Linked DNA regions of Homo sapiens: regions 2 and 3 are each linked to region 1. Evidence: promoter capture Hi-C in 16 types of primary human blood cells and fetal thymus (Javierre and others, 2016). All regions are on one chromosome and are shown on one strand. The core of a region is centred on a gene start or on the middle of the fragment in contact, and the rest is flanking DNA. Distances in the headings are between cores, read along the strand shown.

Region 1 (2,630 bases), core at 49-2,548:
GTGGAAAGCGACTGCAGGCTTACGGATCTCAGAAAGAGTGGAGAGCCCCTGCCACTTTATTCCATACCCCCTTGCGTTTTCGAACCCCTAAGGTCATCAACGACCCGGAAAGCCGGGAGGGGATCACCCACCCCACTTTCTGGGGAGTGCGTGCGTGGGCGGGGAGGCTTATCCAAGTAAAAGGGGGTGGGCAAAACGGAAAGGGTCACTTTGACGTACTGAGTCTCTGCGAAGGCCTCACCGTATGTGCCGGCAGCCGCGTGTCCTGGTCTCCGCCGGGTCACGACCTTCGGAGTTTCCGAGTGCGCCTCAGGCCTGGGACGCGCGGCGCTGTCTCCCCAGTCTCGGAGCCGTGTGCGCAGCGGCCGGCAGGGGGCACTCGCGTCACGGGGAGCCCGCCCGCCGCGCCCGCCTGGCTTGACCCGGGCTTTGGGGCTGACCCGGAGCCTGGCCCGGAGCTGCCTGCGGCCGCGGATGCCGGCGACATTTGGGGCCCGGCTAGGCACAGAGCAACTGGTCGCCAGGGAAGGGCGGGGGGGCGGCCTCCCAGCCGGAGACAAACAAGCAATTAATTCCGGAGCTGAGTTCCCATCTGCCAGGCCTGCTGACAACAGGTCCGGCGCACGCCCGCAGGACCTCCCGCTTCCCGGGCGGCACGGCGCGCACACCCACTTGCGGGCACACGCGCGGCTGTAAAGACACGTGCCGTTCGCAGACGCGCCGAGGCACAGATACGCCGGCGCGGTCGCTGCCCGGCTCGAGGCGCACACCGCGGCGACACTAACCCACGCGCGACAGTTAGACCTAAAGTGGCCCGCGACACGCAGAGTACGCTGGGCTTGCTGGAAAGGCGCCTGGGAGTCTCGGGGCCGGGGTCCCGCCCCTTCCTCGGCCCACCTCGCCGTGGGCCTTGGGCAAGAGCGTCCCCTCCGCAGCCTCAGTTTTCCCGCCTGTAGAGGGAGGGGCGTCGGCGCCTCCTGGGAGACGCGCAGCCCTGGTGTCCCGGGAGAGGGGCGGGAGGCGCATGCGCGCGCGCAACTAGATCCTCGCCGCCGCCCCCAGCGCCCCTCCCCGGGGCAGGGACTCACCTAACAGGTTGGGGTCCTTGGAGTGCGCGGGGCCGCGTGGGGAAGCGGGGACCCTACCCCCCCCACGCGCCGCCCAGCACTGGGCAAGGGCGGGGCACTCTCTGGGCTCCCGCCCCTCGCCGCCCGCCCCGGGAGCCCGAGCCCCGCCCTTCCCCGGCCCCGCCCTCGCCTCCCGAGCGCGCCCACCGGAGCCACCGCGCTCCTCGCGACACTCGCAGGCTCTGCGAACTTCCGAGCGGCTGGGCCGGGCCATGGGGGCGCCTCGGGGCCGGATCACGTAGCCGCGGCGCCCCCGGAGAGCCAGCGTGGCCGGGAGCGCCTGCCGGGCTCTTCCCGCGCCCCGGCCATGGTCGGCCGCGGCGTCCCTCTGTGCGCTGCGCAGCCCGCGGTACGCGCGGCCCGGCCTGGAGAGGGAGGCGGGCGGCGGGGGCCCGGGACGGCGAAGATACTCGCGGTGTGCGCTGGATCCCTGGGGGCCGGGCCTCCTGCTGAGGGTAGCGGACCCGCAGGCGGGACCTCCGGGGATGGAGGGAGTGGGTGAGCGCCAGGGTCGTGCCCAGGGCTCCTAACTTTGGCAAGAGCGTCACGCTGGGGCAGGGCGCGCAGGGGTCTGGATCCGACGGACGTCCCAGGCTCACTGTCCGCTTCCGCCCCCACACCCTGCAGGTGGCCGAGGGCGGCCCGGCCCGCGAGCCGCCGCCGCTGCTGGAGGTGTCCCCCCGAAAGAGGCTACCCGCCGGGCCCGACCAGGACCCATGCGGCAGCCGCCCTGCTCCCGAAGGCGCCGGGGCCGGCCCAGAGCAGGGCCACTCGGCCGGCGGAGGCGGCTGGTGCCGCCACTGCCACACGAAGCTGGTGGAGCTCAAGCGACAGGCGTGGAAGCTGGTCAGCGGGCCCGGGACCACCCTCCGGGTAAGTGACACTTCCTTAGGCCGACCCCTCCGAGCAGGGCCACGCCGAACTTGGGTAGAACTTGGGGCTTGGAGGGAAGCAGGGTTCCACTCCTTCCCTGCTGCTGTTTCCACAAAGAGTTATCAGCCAGGACTTCCCTTCTGCGGGCCTCAGTTTCCCGGTCTGTAACACCATGTGTGAGCTAGGGAGCTCAGCCCGAGGGGCCCTGCTGCCTCGGATGGGAGGGGCCTGGGCTGGCGTTCCTCCCCCAGCCCAGATGTCCCACAGCTGGAACGCAGGTTTGTGTGGGAGGAGGAGGGGAGAGAGCGGATGGCAGGGACTCCACCCAGGGCGGGACAGCTCCAGCCCTACCAGCAGGGAGAGGTTATTTGGTGCATTGTGGCCCTTGGGGCACCTGGGCCCCCAGCCAGGTGTCTGGAAATTACATACCTGGGGCCGGGGGGCCTGGCAGGTGAAAGGGTGGGCCACAGCAGCTGGGGGGTCCCTGCCTACTCCTCTCCCAGCCTCAAGGATAAGAACTGTTGTCCCATACCTCCTGGGATAGACTGAGGCAGTGGCCGCCCATGGGGAATTGAGTCGGGGCCCTCTGGGTTCCCCAGGCTCCAGCCCCAGGGGCAGGTGCTTGCAGGG
Region 2 (2,630 bases), core at 54-2,553, 550 kb after region 1:
AGACAGACGCAGCCTGCAATTCGGCGCTTATCCCCACCGGAGCGGAGGCACACCAAAGCCAAAGGACACGCAGCTGGCCTCAAAGCAGAAGCTGCATCGGGGCTGGGAAGCCATTCAGGAGCCCTTTTCTCTCCCCTCGCCCTCACCCTGAGCCCTGGCCGCCACGGCCCACACAGCAGGCCCTCCGGAGAGAGATGTCAGGACTCCGAGTGGAGACACTTTATCCGCATGTTCTTGACCCTCATACAGCCCTTACGGGTACTTATTCTATTTTACAGATGGGGAAACTGAGGCTCCACAGAGTCATATCCGAGCCTGAGGCCGCACAGGGAGTGCTGGCGCCGGTTCTCAGGGCAGGGGTTGTGTCTGCTCTGTCACATGTCACACGGGGGCTCCCCCAGGCCTGCCTTCCTCTGCCCTCCCTCTAGCTGCCAGTGGCCCCCAAACCCCAGGCCTGGTGCGCTGCTTCCTGCAGCTCTGACTGAGGGTCAGACGTCAGAAGGGACTTCCAGAGCTGGGGTCTGGCTCTCATCCAACCAGGCTGGCTTTCAGAGCCGACTATGGGCACGCCCCATGCTGGTCAATGTCGGCGGTGGGGGGATGGGTGCCCCCCTCAATCTAGGAGACAGATGAGGCCGGACAGCAGAGGGGTGGCAGAGAAAACCCACCCCATTGCGACACCTCCGCGGCCCTCATGCAGCTGTCTCCACCAACCGGCGAAGTGCGGCTGCCCAAGACCGCCGAGACCCCATCAAGGGTGGAAGGGGGTCAGGCAGGGCTGCGGAGAGGAGGCCACATGGGTGGCCTGGTTGATGGGTAGGCTCTCTCTCCCCAAAGCCTGGGAAGAGCCATCTCTGCTGAGGGATCCCCGAACGCGGGGACTCCGGATCCGGCTGGCTGGAACGGGAGTCCCGGGCCGGGGCAGAGAGAGGTGAGCGGCGCCTGGGAGGCCAGTCCCACCGGAGGATAGGGGTGTAGGTGGACGGGAGGCGGTGGAGGGCAGGGACGGGGCGGACAGTGGGGGCTGAGGCGGGAGACGGCCCCGATCTGCGCGTCCCACCCCCATCTCCGCCCACCAGGAGCCAGGCCAGCAGGGACCGCGAGGGGGCGGCCAGGTTATTCACGGGAGTGGGGAGACCCCTTAAAGCGCCCTCAGGGACCGGCCACAGTGGGCGGGGCCACCCCCAGCCACCCACCTCCCCCCCCAGGCCCCGCCCCCGGCCCGCGCTCGCTCCCCACGTGGCCGCTGACGGGCGGGGCGGCACCTCCTCTTCCTCCCGCCCGCCCCGCCCGCCCCGCGCCCGCCAGGAGCCACCGTCCGAGCCTTGCGGAGCGCGGCAGTGGGCGCCGGCTGCCCGCAGCCCCTGACCCGGCCCCGGACGGAGCGCCGGCCGCACCACCGCCCTCTGGCCGTTGCCTCACCGGGTAAGTCCTTGGCCTCGGGGTCCGCTTGGAGCTTCAGGGGAAACTGAGTCCGGGAGGAGGCAGGGGCGTGCTTGGGTCCAGGAGCGAGGTTCCGGGCTGCGGCGTGTGTGCCCAGGTGGCGGCGGGCGGTCCGGCGGCGCAGGGTACAGTTCCCGGGCGGGGACCCCAGGGCGCCCCTGGCCCCCCCGGCTCCGCGCGCCCCGCTCGGGACTATGGTCCTCCGCGCCGAGGCACCGCCCGAGCGCGCACTGGCCGCAGAGTGGTGGGCCCAGGGTCGGCCGGGCCTACTCCCAGGGCAGGCGGGATTTCCGCGCCTCGCGGCTGCCACATCCTGACCATGAATCAGCCACAGTTGGGAAAATAAACTTCAACTTCGGGTCCGCCGCCCGGGTGGCACCCCGAGGTGCGCGCCGGCCTGCGGCCCCACCCTGACTGCTTGGCTTCCAGCTGCCCACGCGCAGGTGGGCGCACAGGGAGCCCTTCCCACCCCGCAACCGCTGGCAGGCTTAGGGGAATCAGCCTCCATCACAGCTCTCTGTTCCTTTTGGGTGGGGTAGGATCCAATCCCTGTACGCCCCCAGACCCACCCGTCAACCCTCTAACTGGGGAGTCGCCCCAGGAGTGACCATGACTAAGGAGGGGAAGGCGGGGTGACCAGCTGTGTCCCTGACCGTCCCCAATGCCCCCTGGGGAGCACAGGCGTGGGGGGTGGTCTGTCTGTCTGGGCCTTCTGGGGCTCAAGCTCCCCACCCAGGGCTCCCGCAGCTCAGCTGTGACCACAGCATTACTGCCCACTCCAGCTGGACACACCAGGAGGCAGAGAGGCAGAGACCCTGCCCAGGCAGGGAACCAGGAACCCAGGAACCGGGCCAGAGGTCAGGCACACCCAGAAGGCGCTGGACGTAGGAAATTCCCTTACTGCCAGCCCTGCCCCTCCGTCTGGCACTGGAATGGAGCAGGATACTCGCCCTCTTCCGGCCTCAGTTTCCACATCTGCACTCTGAAGGGTGGGACAGCAGCTCAGGCTGGGACCTGCTCCCTGCCGCCCTGCACTGGGAAGGTGGGGTCCCAGAGCAGTGCCTCAGACCCCGAGGGTGCCACCCAGCCAGGGGCTTTTGGGGTGTCGGTGCTCAGCCCCCAGTGCAGCAAATAGTAGCATTGGGTTCCAGGCCTGGGGTCTGAGACCTCACACTGCTCCCACCCCT
Region 3 (2,630 bases), core at 96-2,595, 520 kb after region 1:
GGTGCGCTGCACCACCCCTGGTGTCCTGGCGTCACTGGTACCTGTTTCTCTCTCAAAGCTGTCCTGGTTTGGAAGATGAGTGGTACAGCCATCCCATCAATGCGAAACCAAAGGCCCCCTGAGGCAGCCCCCACAATTGAAGAGCAGGCTGCCCTCAGAAGGGGCCCAAACCCCTGCCATTGGACCAAACTGGCTGATTTAGTTTCCTGCCCTCTAAAGTGGAAATTAAGAAACTGACAATGAAAATGTCCCCTTTAGGCTGGGAGCGGTGGCTCATGCAGATAATCCCAGCACTTTGGGAGGCTGAGGCAGGAGAATCACTTGAGCCCAGGAGATGGAGGTTGCAGTGAGCTGAGATCGCACCACCGCACTCCAGCCTGGGTGGCAAAGCGAGACCCTGTCTCAAAAAAAGTCATAGCTTGACTTCCAGAGTCTTCCTGTCTGCCCGGTGCTGGTCGGTGGTCTCTGGAAGCCCTCCAGCTGCCACCTTCCTTTCTGTCCCTCCCCGGGAGGGATATGCAGGCCCAGAGGAGGTGACTCCAGGCGGGTGGTCCCAGAGGAAGGGGGCTCCACCCTTCCCCTGAGTAGTGGGGAATGTGGCTTCACCCTTCCCCTGCATAGTGGGGAATGTTTGGGATCTGCTGGGAGGGGTCTGCCATGGGGGCAGTGTGGGAAGGTACTCAGAAACCACCAGCACCCCCCACCCTGGTGGCCCTGGATTCTGGTGGGGCCACTGGAAGCCCGGACCCATGCAGGTCTCAGCAACATCACCCCCTCCACAGTGAGATCCGTGTCAGAGTGACCCGCCCCAACCAGTCCCAGGGCTCCCTGCTTCTCAGACCCTCCCTCCTTCCCAGCCCAGAGCCCCTCCCTCCGAAGCTTCCCTTCTCCTACTCCACCCCTGCTGTGGGGAGAAAAGACCTGCAGAGTACCCCAACAAGCCCTCTGCACTGGGGGAGGGGTGCACGTCCACTCACCCAGAAGGGGATTGGGAACCAGAAGCCAGGTGAGCCTCCCTGAGATCACAGGGCCTGATTCCGGGACCCCAGTGTCCAACACCTGCCCCCCCAGGGTGCTCCACAGCCCCTGCCTACACCTCAACCCCCCTCCACCTCCACATCTGTTCAGGTGATGTCCAACACCACCCGAATCTTACTGACCACTGGTGAGAAAGGGAGGGGCGAGGTTGGCCTCTGCATGGTAAAGCTGGGTAAACTGAGGCAGCACGTTCTGGGCAGCCCAGGACGCCCAGGTTCCCGCCAGCCCACGGCCTCTCCCGCCTTGCACGGGCTTCACAGTTTGCCAGCGAGGGCACAAACGGGGGCTCCGCGGGCCGGCGACTCACCGCGCCTTCCCTACCCCGCCCCAGTTTCTCCCATGGAGCTGGTCTGCAGGCCCGGCATCCACAAGCCCCACCGCACTGCACCGCTCTGCAGGTCGCTGGCGCCTGTTCTGGCCTCGCTGGGACCCCCACCCAGACGCACCCCACAGCCAACTCCACCGGACCCACGCTGCCCGAGTATTTTTAGCAGAGGGTCAGATGCCTCTTAAACCTCAGCTGAGACGTGAATTTCCTCCCTGACAGCTGCGGCCAGGAGCCGCACGTCCTGCCTGGCGGGCGTGGGCGGTTCTGACCTCGGAGGCACAGCTGCAGGGTCTGCAGTCCTCTGGGAACTTCCTCCTCCCAGGTGCCCCGATTTGGGCTCCCTGGGTGCCTCCGCCCCAGGCCGCCCACCAGGCGCTCACTTGCCCGGTCCTCCGTCTGGAGCCCCTCCCGATGGCCGTCGCCACCCACTCTCCTTCTCTGTCTGGAAGCTTGGAGAGCAAGAGCAGAGGCCTGGGTTCAGATTCTCAGGGATCTGGGTTCAAGTCCTGCCCCCACCCCCCTGCACTTGGGAAAGCTGCTACCTCTCAGAACCCGTTTCCTCCACTGTGAAGTGGAAGGAAAATTGCCCACCTGGGGGCTGTTGCGACTATAACCAGCCAGCGGTGCCTGCAGCACCCACAGACCCCCAGGCGTCTTCAGGGCTCCCTGTGCCCCAGCCAGCGCCAGGAGCCTGCAGGACCGAGAGGGGCCCTGGCAGGGCTGCACAGATATTCAGATGTTCAGACCTGAGGCCCAAGACCTGCCTGCCAGGACAGGGACGCTCCTGCCTGGGGATGCTGGGGTCCCAGAAAGTGAGAAGCAGTGGCCCAGCGCCCTCTGCTCTCACTTCCTCCCCACCAAGCACAAGTACTAATTACGCACACCTCAGCTCCCCGGGGGGGCCAGGAGGAAATGCCCGGCAGAGCCCTCCGTCCTACCCCGTGCAGCCTGGGTCTCCCTCCACGGGCCCAGCCTCTTCCACTGCTGCTTTCAGTTACCCGGCTTTGTAGGCGCAAACACCCTGTCTGTTTTCTTCTTTCTCAAGCCATCTTAGCTGCTTTTGATCTGTATTCTTCCATGTAAAATGTAGACTACATTTATTTATTTCTTTAAAAAAAAATTGAAGCCCAAATGAGACTCCAATTAGAATTGCATTGAATTTATTATGTCCCCATAATTCTCTGGGGAGAATTATGTGTTTATAACATTACGTTTTCCTGTCCGTTCTGTTAGGCTTGCTAAGTAAGCTGACATGTGATCTGCA

The links. Contacts are between HindIII fragments. The CHiCAGO score rates a contact against its expected background, and 5 or more counts as called.
Region 2: a contact is called between the fragment with the promoter of INF2 here and the fragment with the promoter of KIF26A in region 1, in 1 of 17 cell types (erythroblasts). The highest score is 5.3, in erythroblasts.
Region 3: a contact is called between a fragment that was not itself captured here and the fragment with the promoter of KIF26A in region 1, in 2 of 17 cell types (endothelial precursors and naive CD4 T cells). The highest score is 7.3, in endothelial precursors.

Annotation. Positions count from the first base shown.
Region 1 is chr14:104,137,289-104,139,918 of GRCh38, forward strand. KIF26A (kinesin family member 26A) reads left to right here and starts at 1,299. Exons shown (of 15, transcript NM_015656.2): 1 at 1,299-1,476; 2 at 1,755-2,000. The coding sequence starts at 1,435. KIF26A-DT (KIF26A divergent transcript) reads right to left here and starts at 1,341. Exons shown (of 3, transcript NR_158217.1): 1 at 242-1,341. RefSeq lists an enhancer at 1-601 and a silencer at 298-467. The HindIII fragment of the contact is 14,398 bases long and covers 1-2,630 here.
Region 2 is chr14:104,688,315-104,690,944 of GRCh38, forward strand. INF2 (inverted formin 2) reads left to right here and starts at 1,304. Exons shown (of 23, transcript NM_022489.4): 1 at 1,304-1,425. RefSeq lists enhancers at 1-285, 286-1,275 and silencers at 968-1,227, 1,328-1,417, 1,438-1,677, 1,768-1,817. The HindIII fragment of the contact is 13,120 bases long and covers 1-2,630 here.
Region 3 is chr14:104,658,609-104,661,238 of GRCh38, forward strand. LINC02280 (long intergenic non-protein coding RNA 2280) reads right to left here. Exons shown (of 2, transcript NR_135293.1): 2 at 2,512-2,630. Among named protein-coding and RNA genes, the nearest start is that of LINC02280, 5.6 kb to the right of the region's middle. RefSeq lists enhancers at 665-1,259, 1,260-1,854. The HindIII fragment of the contact is 936 bases long and covers 878-1,813 here.